Linked DNA regions of Homo sapiens: region 2 is linked to region 1. Evidence: promoter capture Hi-C in human tissues and cell types (Jung and others, 2019). All regions are on one chromosome and are shown on one strand. The core of a region is centred on a gene start or on the middle of the fragment in contact, and the rest is flanking DNA. Distances in the headings are between cores, read along the strand shown.

Region 1 (5,140 bases), core at 1,460-3,959:
GAGGTGTGCAAAGATTTTATACAATTATGGGCATGACATTAACACAAAAAACTTAAAACAGGCCAAATGTCCAATGAGAGTAATAGTTTTAAATTTTATGATAAATTTCTACTGGGTGCCTACTATGTGTAAAAACCAGTGTCAGACGCTCAAATCATTTATAGAATCATGGACTATCATGATATCATTAAAAATAATGTTTTTGAAGAATGTTTAATAATATTGGAAAATGTGCACTATAAAATATTGTGTGAAAAAAAGGAAAGATCCCAAACTGTATATAAAGCAAGATTCAAAAGATTTAAAGGAAATATACCAAATGGTAACTGTGTAGATGGAAATACAGGTGATTTTATCTTTCTCTTCTATTTTTCTTGTATTTCATTAATCTAAGTAAAACTGTTAAATAATTTAATCTTTATTAAAGAAAATATCAATTATATATAAGATGTAACGTCAAGATAAAAGCATATGTTTGTATCTACTTAAGAAAAATTGTAATAAATTAGGCTAATCTATCATATATATATATATTATATATTTTCATTAAACAGATAGGTGTTGAGTGCCTCTGCTATCACCAGTTACTGTTTTAGAGCCTACAGATTCTGGTATACTGCAGTGAACAAGGGAGGAAATAATTCGCTTTGCATTTCAGCAGGGGTTGGGGGTGGGGTGATGGGAAAAGGGAGAGTTTACATTCATGCTCTTTCCCTTTATAAAGAAATGGCAGCAATGTGTGTGTGTCGGGGGCGGTGGGTGGAGGTTGAGGACGCTGCTGTTACTGTGCAGTCTTGTGAATATGCAATAGGAAACCCAATCCTTAATTTTGACATTGCTTTTTGCTGTAATGTGGGCATGCTCAGCCAAATAAATAACCAAACATGAGACCAAGTCTAGAAACACACTTTTGCTCATATGGCACAGAACATAACTGCTATCCTGGTGTTTAGGGACCAGTGCACCAGTGAAGGTCTATGCTCAGAATTCTGGGCAACATATACTGCTGAAGGAACAGAGCTCAGAGGCTTGGACCGGCTGATCTTATTTTCAGAAACCAATAAATGGAGCTCTTAATTTTTAATAACTGATTTTACAGTCATCTGATGTCTAAGGTCACTTAGGATACAGGACTTATTCATCTATCTGTTTATTGGTTCTTAAATATCAATTAATTTCCTTAATGGTAGGATGCTGGGAAAGGAAGATGGGGAGGGTGGTCCTTAATTGCATTTGTTTATCACTTTTTATAATCAAAGTTATAGCGAGCTTAGAGTAAAAATAAAAAAAAGTTTTTTGAAGCATAAAATGGCAAATATTAGGAGTTTCATTGTATTAGGAGCGCACACAAAGTACATACAAGTGAAATCTTGGAACAGTTCTTATAACAAACATCCAGGCAGTAGACAAACTAGAGATTTCTGGAAATAGGCAGAAAAATAATAACTGCCGGGTTCTAACTTGAAGAAACTCTGATTCACATTAACTACCAAGAGAAACCACACTCGACCAGTTCCTTAAGACACGGGACCCCACAACAAGAAGCTGGTGCTCTGCAACCAGTTGAGAAGTACAGGACAGCTGCTGAGCTATTTCAAAGACAGTCATATCTGTGTGGCACACTCTCCCAGAAGGTTACAGGGCAACTTTCCAGCCACTTACATTCACTGATGATTTCCAGGGAGGGTAGGAAGTATTCATCACAGACAATAGATATGGCCATGAACATGTAAACGATAATTAGGAAATAGATTATGATGCCTCCATCTCTGCGCTCCTGTCTCGTGAAAAACCCTTCGGGAAACTCCGATGATGGAGAAATAACACATTGGGTGCTATTTCCTGTTAAGGAAAAGGAGGTGAAAGTTTGAAGAGTTTGGAGTCACACATTCCAAGCCCACAGAGAGCTTCCTTAAGAAATCTGTAAGTGTGGGGTAACCGGGTGGAATTTTAAGGACCCACTGAAAATGTATAAAGCGCTTCTGAATATAACACAGTTGTAGAGTTTTCAAAAAATTTTTTTGGGGGACTGAAAAGAGATATCTTAATGAAATATGTTGATGATGGTGAAGAATTAAAAAGAGGAAATCATGAAATCACTCCTCCTTGTTTTTATTTCTGAATCTCTCTTCCCCAAGTAGAAACTGTATCTCTGATACATGAAGATTTCTATTGTTTATACAATTTCGTTTTCTCATTGCAGAGCCTAAATTGTTCACAGGCCTGCAAAGAATCCATCCACTGTTGCAGAGAGAATTTCTAAGATGAAAGATTTTTTGTTTTCACCAAAAAGTCTCCAAGAACAAAAACTGGAGACTTGGCCTACTATGATCTCTGTGAATTACTTTGGAGTATATTTAAGAACTTATTTGAAGGATCAAAAGTGTTTGATATCTTTTTAAATGCTAAAATTCAGAAGCGTAAGTAAAAGTGAGCCCATTGAGAATTTTCCTCTTTTTGTCCCTTCATCTGTATGTGGTAGCAGCAGCAGCAGCTGCTGCTGCAGAGCTAACTGACCCCAATGTCCACCTACCTGTGGCCCTTGGGAGACGTTGGGGCAGGGAGGTCCCTGAGAGAGGCAGATGTGCAGTGGCCCACAGGATGCCGAGCAACAGAGCCCTTCTCGCCCATGTTTGGCCCCCTTTTGTCTGCATTTCTGCTGTGCTCTTACTGCAGCGTGCAGCTTCAGGAAGGGAGAAGAGGAGGATTAAACTGGATCATGTGAGGAGTCTCCTTCCTGCCCAATACCCTGCCCAGGGCACATCTCAGCAAGGCCAGCACAGGAGAAAGGGCGAGTGTAGCCAGTCAAGCTTCTCTGATCAGGAGACCCAATCTCCAGGGAGGCCGGAGGAGACGGAGGAGAGCTGACAACCATTGTCTATAGCTATTTCCATGGCCTACAGTCTCTAAGGGCAGATTAAGGCAGCTTGTACTTTATGAAAATGTGTGGTTTTATTTAATGTCTTCATACTGGCTCTGCTTTTGACTTTCTCTAGATTTGTAAAAAGTTGGGTTTGCAACTGCTTCCCATCTCTCTCCAGCCCTTTCCCCTAGAAGTTGTTTGGGTTGATATTAATATATGTACATGCTTTGGCTAGCTCGGCATCCTTTCATATTTCTGTTTTAGCCTCTCATCTTCATCTTCAGTTAGGGCCAAAGGGAGAAAGGCCAGTTAGGGCATCATTGCAATCGTCTAGCTGAGAAATGATAGTGGCTTGAACCAAGGCTGTGGCAACGGGGATGGAGAGTAGCTGACAGTTTCAAGAATTATTGAGATGGAGTGGATGCTATTTGATCATTGATAGGCTGTGCTTTCTGCCAGAGGGAGCTATCTAAAATGCAAATTTGACGTACAAGGTAGTGTTTAAATATAGACTACTATCTTCCCTATGCTAACATTTATGAGGCTTGCCAAGATATTTAGAACTTTTGGCAGTGTAGTAACCTATAGCTAATAGCACAGGCTATGGAACCAGACCACATGATTTGAGCCCTAGCACTGCTACTTACTAGTTATGTGACTTTTGGCATGTTATTTAACCTTTCTGCTACACAGTTCTGCTATCTGTAAAACAGGGATCACCTGTATTTGGGTTGTGGTAAGAATTACAAAAATGAACGCAAATAATTTGCTCAGAACGACCTCTGGCTGACGTCTTCATTCCTTCCTTTCTTTTTCTTTGTTTTGTTTGTTTTCCTTCCTTCCTCCCTTCCTTCCTTCCTTCCTTCCTTCCTTTCTTCTCCTCCTCCTCTTTCTCTCCTTCCTTCCTTCCCTCCTTCCTTCCTTTCCTTCGTTCCTTCTTTCTTTCTTCCTTTCTTTTCTTTTCTTTTTCTTTCTTTCTTTCTTTCTTTCTTTCTTTCTTTCTTTCTTTTTCTTTCTCTTTCTTTCTTTCAATTGAAATAGAAGCGTTTTTGTTCATAAAAATTTTTGTAGTTTTGCAACTTTCATGGTTCCTTTGCTTTGCAGAAAAAACACAAAAATTGATATGCCTAGTAAGTTTTCTATTTAGAAACTAGCTTTATCTGATGGAACGGAGTAAGTTGCTTCCTGATGTTTGTGATCTTGGGTCGGAAGAAAGTCTCAAAAACTACTTTTTTTTGTGGGAATTGGTATCCATTATAAACCTCTCCAAAACTGTCATTTCTAGGAACTAGATATTCAGATGTATGGTGTGATTGTGAGGCTGTGATGATGAGTCACCAAAGCATAGCCCAGTATAGAGCAGATTCTCAACAAGCAGAGTTCCAGCTGTCTACACTCGCAGGAAGCAGCACCCTGATCACTGGGGAGTGGCCTACATGCCAGCTAGCTAAGACTAAGGGAAGAGGTCGTTTAGTTTTATGCTGAGTGGAAGTGTCTTGCGAGCCTCTCCTCTTCAACACACAGTACTTCAATCAATTCATAAAACATCATAAACAAATAAAATACCAATAATATAAAAAGCTCAAACCCAAAGTGAAAGCTTCCAATGCACATTGTCAGCTAATTCAAGAGAGAGAGCAAGTGTCTGAAGGTACGAGCCAATTGCTATGGAACAGCAGAAGTGCCTTGCACATAGTTAGTACTCCATCAACATTTGCAGATCGATTACTTTGCAATGAATGGTCTTGAAAACACATTGCCAGAACATGCATATGCTTGGTCTAAACAAATTACCATCTAAATATGGATTTACCACGAAAAGAGATTTTAGGAGATGAATTAGATTTGCTTCACACACATTCTTCATTTTGCAAAAGCATCTTAAAGATCTTTTTCTTGTAAAATAACACCCAGATAAAACTACATACATGAATAGTTTACTATATTATTATTATTTTCATAAGATGAACACCCTTGTAAACATCCAAGGTCAAGAAATAGAAATTTGCCAGCCACCCACATATACACCATGGAATACTATGCAGCCATAAAAAAGGATGAGTTCATGTCCTTTGTAGAGACATGGATGAAGCTGGAAACCATCATTCTCAGCAAACTATCGCAAGGACAAAAAACCAAACACCGCATGTTCTCCCTCATAGGTGGGAACTGAACAATGAGAACACATGGACACAGGAAGGGGAACATCACACACTGGGGACTGTTGTGGGGTGGGGGGAGGGGGGAGGGATAGCATTAGGAGATATACCTAATGTA
Region 2 (4,508 bases), core at 1,828-4,327, 180 kb before region 1:
TCTTGAGTTTAATGTTAACTTCCATTTTTCTTATTTATTAATAAAGCCATTTATGGCTACATATTTGCCTCCAACTCCTGCTTTTTTATCATATGTTTTGCTATGTGGAATTCTCCATGTCATTTTTACCAAAGAGTCTAAAGCTGCATTTTCTACTTCTTTTTGACCTGAGTTATTTAGGAGAATTTTCTTTTTCCAGTAAGTAAGGTTTTTTATATTGTTGTTTATATATTTGTAATGTCAGTTTTATTGTGTTGTGATAAAAGTGTTATATTTACTATTTCTACATTTTGGAATTTACTGAGTTTTTATTTGCTATTAACATAGAATTTGTTTTCATAAATATTCAATAGATTTTTAAAAGTTGATGTATTTTCTGTGGGTGAGCACTATTGTACCTATTCAATTTTTTTTTAATGTTGTTTGAATTCTTCCTATACTTGATTTGTCAAAGATTGTCATAAGGGTGAACTGTTTCCTAAGAAAATTGACTTTCTGGCCGGGTGCAGTGGCTCACGCCTGTAATCCCGGCACTTTGGGAGGCCGAGGCGGGTGAATCATCTGAGGTTAGGAGTTCAAGAACAGCCTGGACAACATGGTGAAACTCTGTCTCTACTAAAAACACAAAAGTTAACCGAGCTGTCGGCACATGCTTATAATTCCAGCTATTCAGGAGACTGAGGCAGGAGACTCACTTGATCCCGGGAGGCAGAGCTTGCAGTAGGCAGAAATTGTGCCACTGCACTCCAGCCTGGGCAACAAGAGTGAAACTCCATCTTAAAAAAAAAAAAAAAAAAAAAAAAATCAAAAATTGGCTTTCTGGGACTGTCCTTTTGTTTCCAACAATTTTTTGTATTATTTATGTCAATACTATGCTATTTGTTTACAGAATGCTGCATTATTATTATAGCTACATTGTGGCTATATCTATTTTATAAATATAAAATGATACTCTCCTGTCATTCCTAATTCTTTTAGTCTTAAACTTTGAAGTTAATATTGTCAACTCTATTCCTTTTGCTTAAATGTTTGTGTATATTTTTGTTTATTCTTTTGCTTTTAGCCTTTTTTTTTCACTTCCACTTGTGGACTTTTAGCCTTTTTATATTTAATTCTGAATATAATGCTTGCAGATAGAATAGAGTTTGATTTTTTCATTAAATTTGAGAGTCATTTTGTTAATAAGAAAGATGAACACATTTGTGTTTTCTATTTGTTTCTTGCATGTTTGATTTTTCTTCTATTGTAGGATTCTATTATTGTATAATTTCTCTCTTTTTTAAGTAATATTTTTTTACTCTTCTCTTTTGGATTATTTTTAATGTTTTTATGCTCTTTATGTATTGGGATTTACACACAATGTTGTTGTTTTCTTTTCTGATGCCTCTGCCAAAGGCATCCATGAGATGCTGCATAGCAATGCCCACCAAGCATACCATGCAACCTCTCAGGGAAGCTGTTCTGAATACTTGCAGTATCCAACACAATGGGTCCTAAGGAAGGTGCTCCACCCTGTCCTACTGCCTATTCTCACTTCCAGCTTCAAATTGCGGGGAAGGATTATTGGAATTCTCCCAGGGTCTCCTGCAATTATTCCCTAAGATTTTTTTTTCCCCAGGAGCATTGATTGTAAGCTGATCTTTGATTGCTTCCATCAGTCTCCACCCATGTAAACTATAGCATGATTTTATTTCTAAATAAATTACCATGTGAATGGCATCCTTTCTTAGTTTTCTGCTGTGATGCAGATTTTCTTCTGTTTTTTAAAAATTTTATTTTTTTTTTTTGAGACGAAGTTTCACTCTGTTGCCCAGGCTGGAGTGCAGTGGCGTGATCTCGGCTGTTTCAGGGGAGACCTGATACGCATTGAGAAAGATAATTAGATAGGCTGGGCGCAGTGGCTCACACTTGTAATCCTAGCGCTTTGGGAGGCCAAGGCGAGCAGATCACCTGAGGTCAGGCGTTCGAGACCAGCCTGGCCAACATGGCAAACCCCCTCTCTACTAAAAATACAAAAATTAGCCAGGTGCCTCTAATCACAGCTACTCAGGAGGCTGAGGCATGAGAATTGCTTGAACCTGGGAGGTGGAGGTTTCAGGGACCCGAGATTGTGCCATGGCACTCCAGCCTGGGTGACAAAGTGAGACTCCATGTCAAAAAAAAAAGAGAGAGAGAAAGAGAATTAGATGCCATTCCTCCAGTGTATGTGTGTGTGTTTTACAAAAGTCTGGTCAATCTGCATTTAGGGTAGGACACCTAGAGAGAAACATCAAGACAATTAGTGTTTAAATATATGGATCTGAGACTTAGAAGAGATCTGAGTTAAAAATGTAAATTCAGGAGACACCAACATGTAGTGGAAATCAAATCATGGAAATGGGAGGGACTGCCCTCAAAGCACTAGTTCCAAAATCTTGCAGATCATCAGAACATACAGGTCCCTCAGTCCCACTCCCAGAGATTCTAATTTACCAGGGTTATGGTGGTCCCCAAGAATTTATACTCTCTTTTTAAAGTTTCCATCAATGGCCTGGTATGGTGACTCATGCTTGCAATCCCAGCACTTTGGAAGGCCAAGGCGGGAGGATTGCTTGAGGCCAGGAGTTCAAGAGCAGCTTGGGCAATATAGTGAGCTCCTGTCTCTACAAAAAAATTTTAAAAGGTTAGCCAGGTGTGGTGGCGTATGAATGTAGTCCTAGCTATTCAGGAAGTAGAGGTGAGAGAATTGTTTGAGCCCAGGAGTTTGAGATTATGGCGAGCTATAATTGCACCACTACACTCCATCCTGGGTGAGAGAGCCAGACTTTGTCTCTAAATAATAATAATAATTATAATAAATAAAGCTTCCATTGAAATATTTCTAAAATTGAGTGTTAAGTAAAAAACTCATAGGACAATGCTCCCAGTATGGCACTATCTATGAAAGAAATTTTATGTCTATGAATATGTCTATATTTGTGGGGATGGGAGCAGAGACAGCAACTGAAAAAGTGATGGTGAAGTCATGGTGAGGAAAGGGTGGGGACGCTGTTGAGAAACATGCACAAAGTGAGGAGACAGAGACAGTTGGACACCAATGCACATGACTGTGGAATGTTCTCCTTCTTGCTCAGAAACCTGAGTGTAGACATGGACATGATGGGTGGCTGGATCAATAGAGTTGGGTGAAGAAAAGGACAACAGCAGGGCACCAAGGGCTGGATAAATCTGCTGCTATGTGACTGTAGCCCCTATCCTTTTAACTTTCTGCCCTCCGAATTTATTCCCAATACAGTTGCTCTTGACCTCAAGATCTCTAGTACCTTAGAGCCACCCAACCCTTAACCTGGAATCCAAGGGCTATACTCAGCCATCTTCTTGCTACTAGCCCTCTGGAAATTCAGTAACTCGGTTTCTACTACTTTATATGGTCCCTTCGGTACTACCCAGACCTTGTTTAATGAAGAGCTTGTTGCCCTAACAGCTAGGAGTGCTGTCAGCACATAGACTTTCCCTGCCAGGCCCTTGGGGGATTGCCTCTGCTGCACAGAGCTGCCCCATGCACCCCCCTGCCCCAGAGGTCACACCTCTTCCCAGGCAGCCCCCATGCAATAACTGATAAAAGCAGAGTACAAAAGCCTGGCCCTTTCTGCCCTGCTTGGGATGACTCTCTGTAGGGTCAGCAGAGGCTGTCGTTGGGCCTGCATCCCAGCTCACTGCTTACCTCTATGTTTGCTGTTTCTTCCCCTCCTTCCCTCAGGTGTTGATCCCCAGGGGATCATGCTAAACTTTGTCTCAGAGTCTGTTTCCCAAGGAGCCCAACTTGCAGCAGCCGGGAAAGAAACAAGAGCCAGAATGTCCTGTTAAAGAAGTCATATTACTTCTCACCTTTCCCAGAGACCCTCAAGTATTTCAGAGAAGTGTCAGGCCCACATGAAGCTGAGTTTAGGCATTTGGATTTCAGGTCCATAGTGCTCAAGAGAAAGGGTTTTATCAAGGGCAGAGTTAAGCACAGTGGCCCTGGATTTGGAATAGGAATATCCAGCTGCCTAAGCTTTGCTGATGGTCTCCCTTATTCTCTGGTCATCCTTCTGAGCAGAGAGGCTGGGTTAGGAAGTCCTGATCTTGAATCCTAGCTTTAAGCAGCTGCAGATGAGGCCACTGACTGAAATCTTCAGGCTCACATCTGATACACCATTGCACCACAATTTTAGTGACTGAAAGTAAAAACATGACCTAGGCCAAAGCAATTGAATTTGAGTGCTTTTATTTCAGGTTCATATTTTCCCATATATGTTTTCAGTTAGAATGAACAGTCAAAACATGTCAAGGAGAAAAATCAAGCCATTCATCAGAAAATCAATATTTTCATTGGTTTGTCAATGTGATTATGTATTATAGGTATACTAACAAAAATGAAAAAAATCAGTATCTGTATATTCCAAATTTTACAAGTTTTTCAACTTCACATTTTAATTATTCTTTTAAATCCATACAATCACTATAGAAAGTAACTAAATATATGATTC

The links. The method cuts DNA at HindIII sites, captures the fragments that hold promoters and counts their contacts. A contact is called where the count stands out against the background at its distance.
Region 2: a fragment that was not itself captured here is called in contact with the fragment with the promoter of SLC24A5 in region 1 in 2 of the 25 tissues and cell types used here (spleen and thymus).

Annotation. Positions count from the first base shown.
Region 1 is chr15:48,118,559-48,123,698 of GRCh38, reverse strand. SLC24A5 (solute carrier family 24 member 5) reads right to left here and starts at 2,709. Exons shown (of 9, transcript NM_205850.3): 1 at 2,534-2,709; 2 at 1,663-1,842. The coding sequence starts at 2,654. The HindIII fragment of the contact is 7,987 bases long and covers 1-3,637 here.
Region 2 is chr15:48,303,800-48,308,307 of GRCh38, reverse strand. It overlaps SLC12A1 (solute carrier family 12 member 1), which reads right to left. Exons shown (of 27, transcript NM_000338.3): 27 at 4,230-4,508. Among named protein-coding and RNA genes, the nearest start is that of DUT, 25 kb to the left of the region's middle. The HindIII fragment of the contact is 4,732 bases long and covers 712-4,508 here.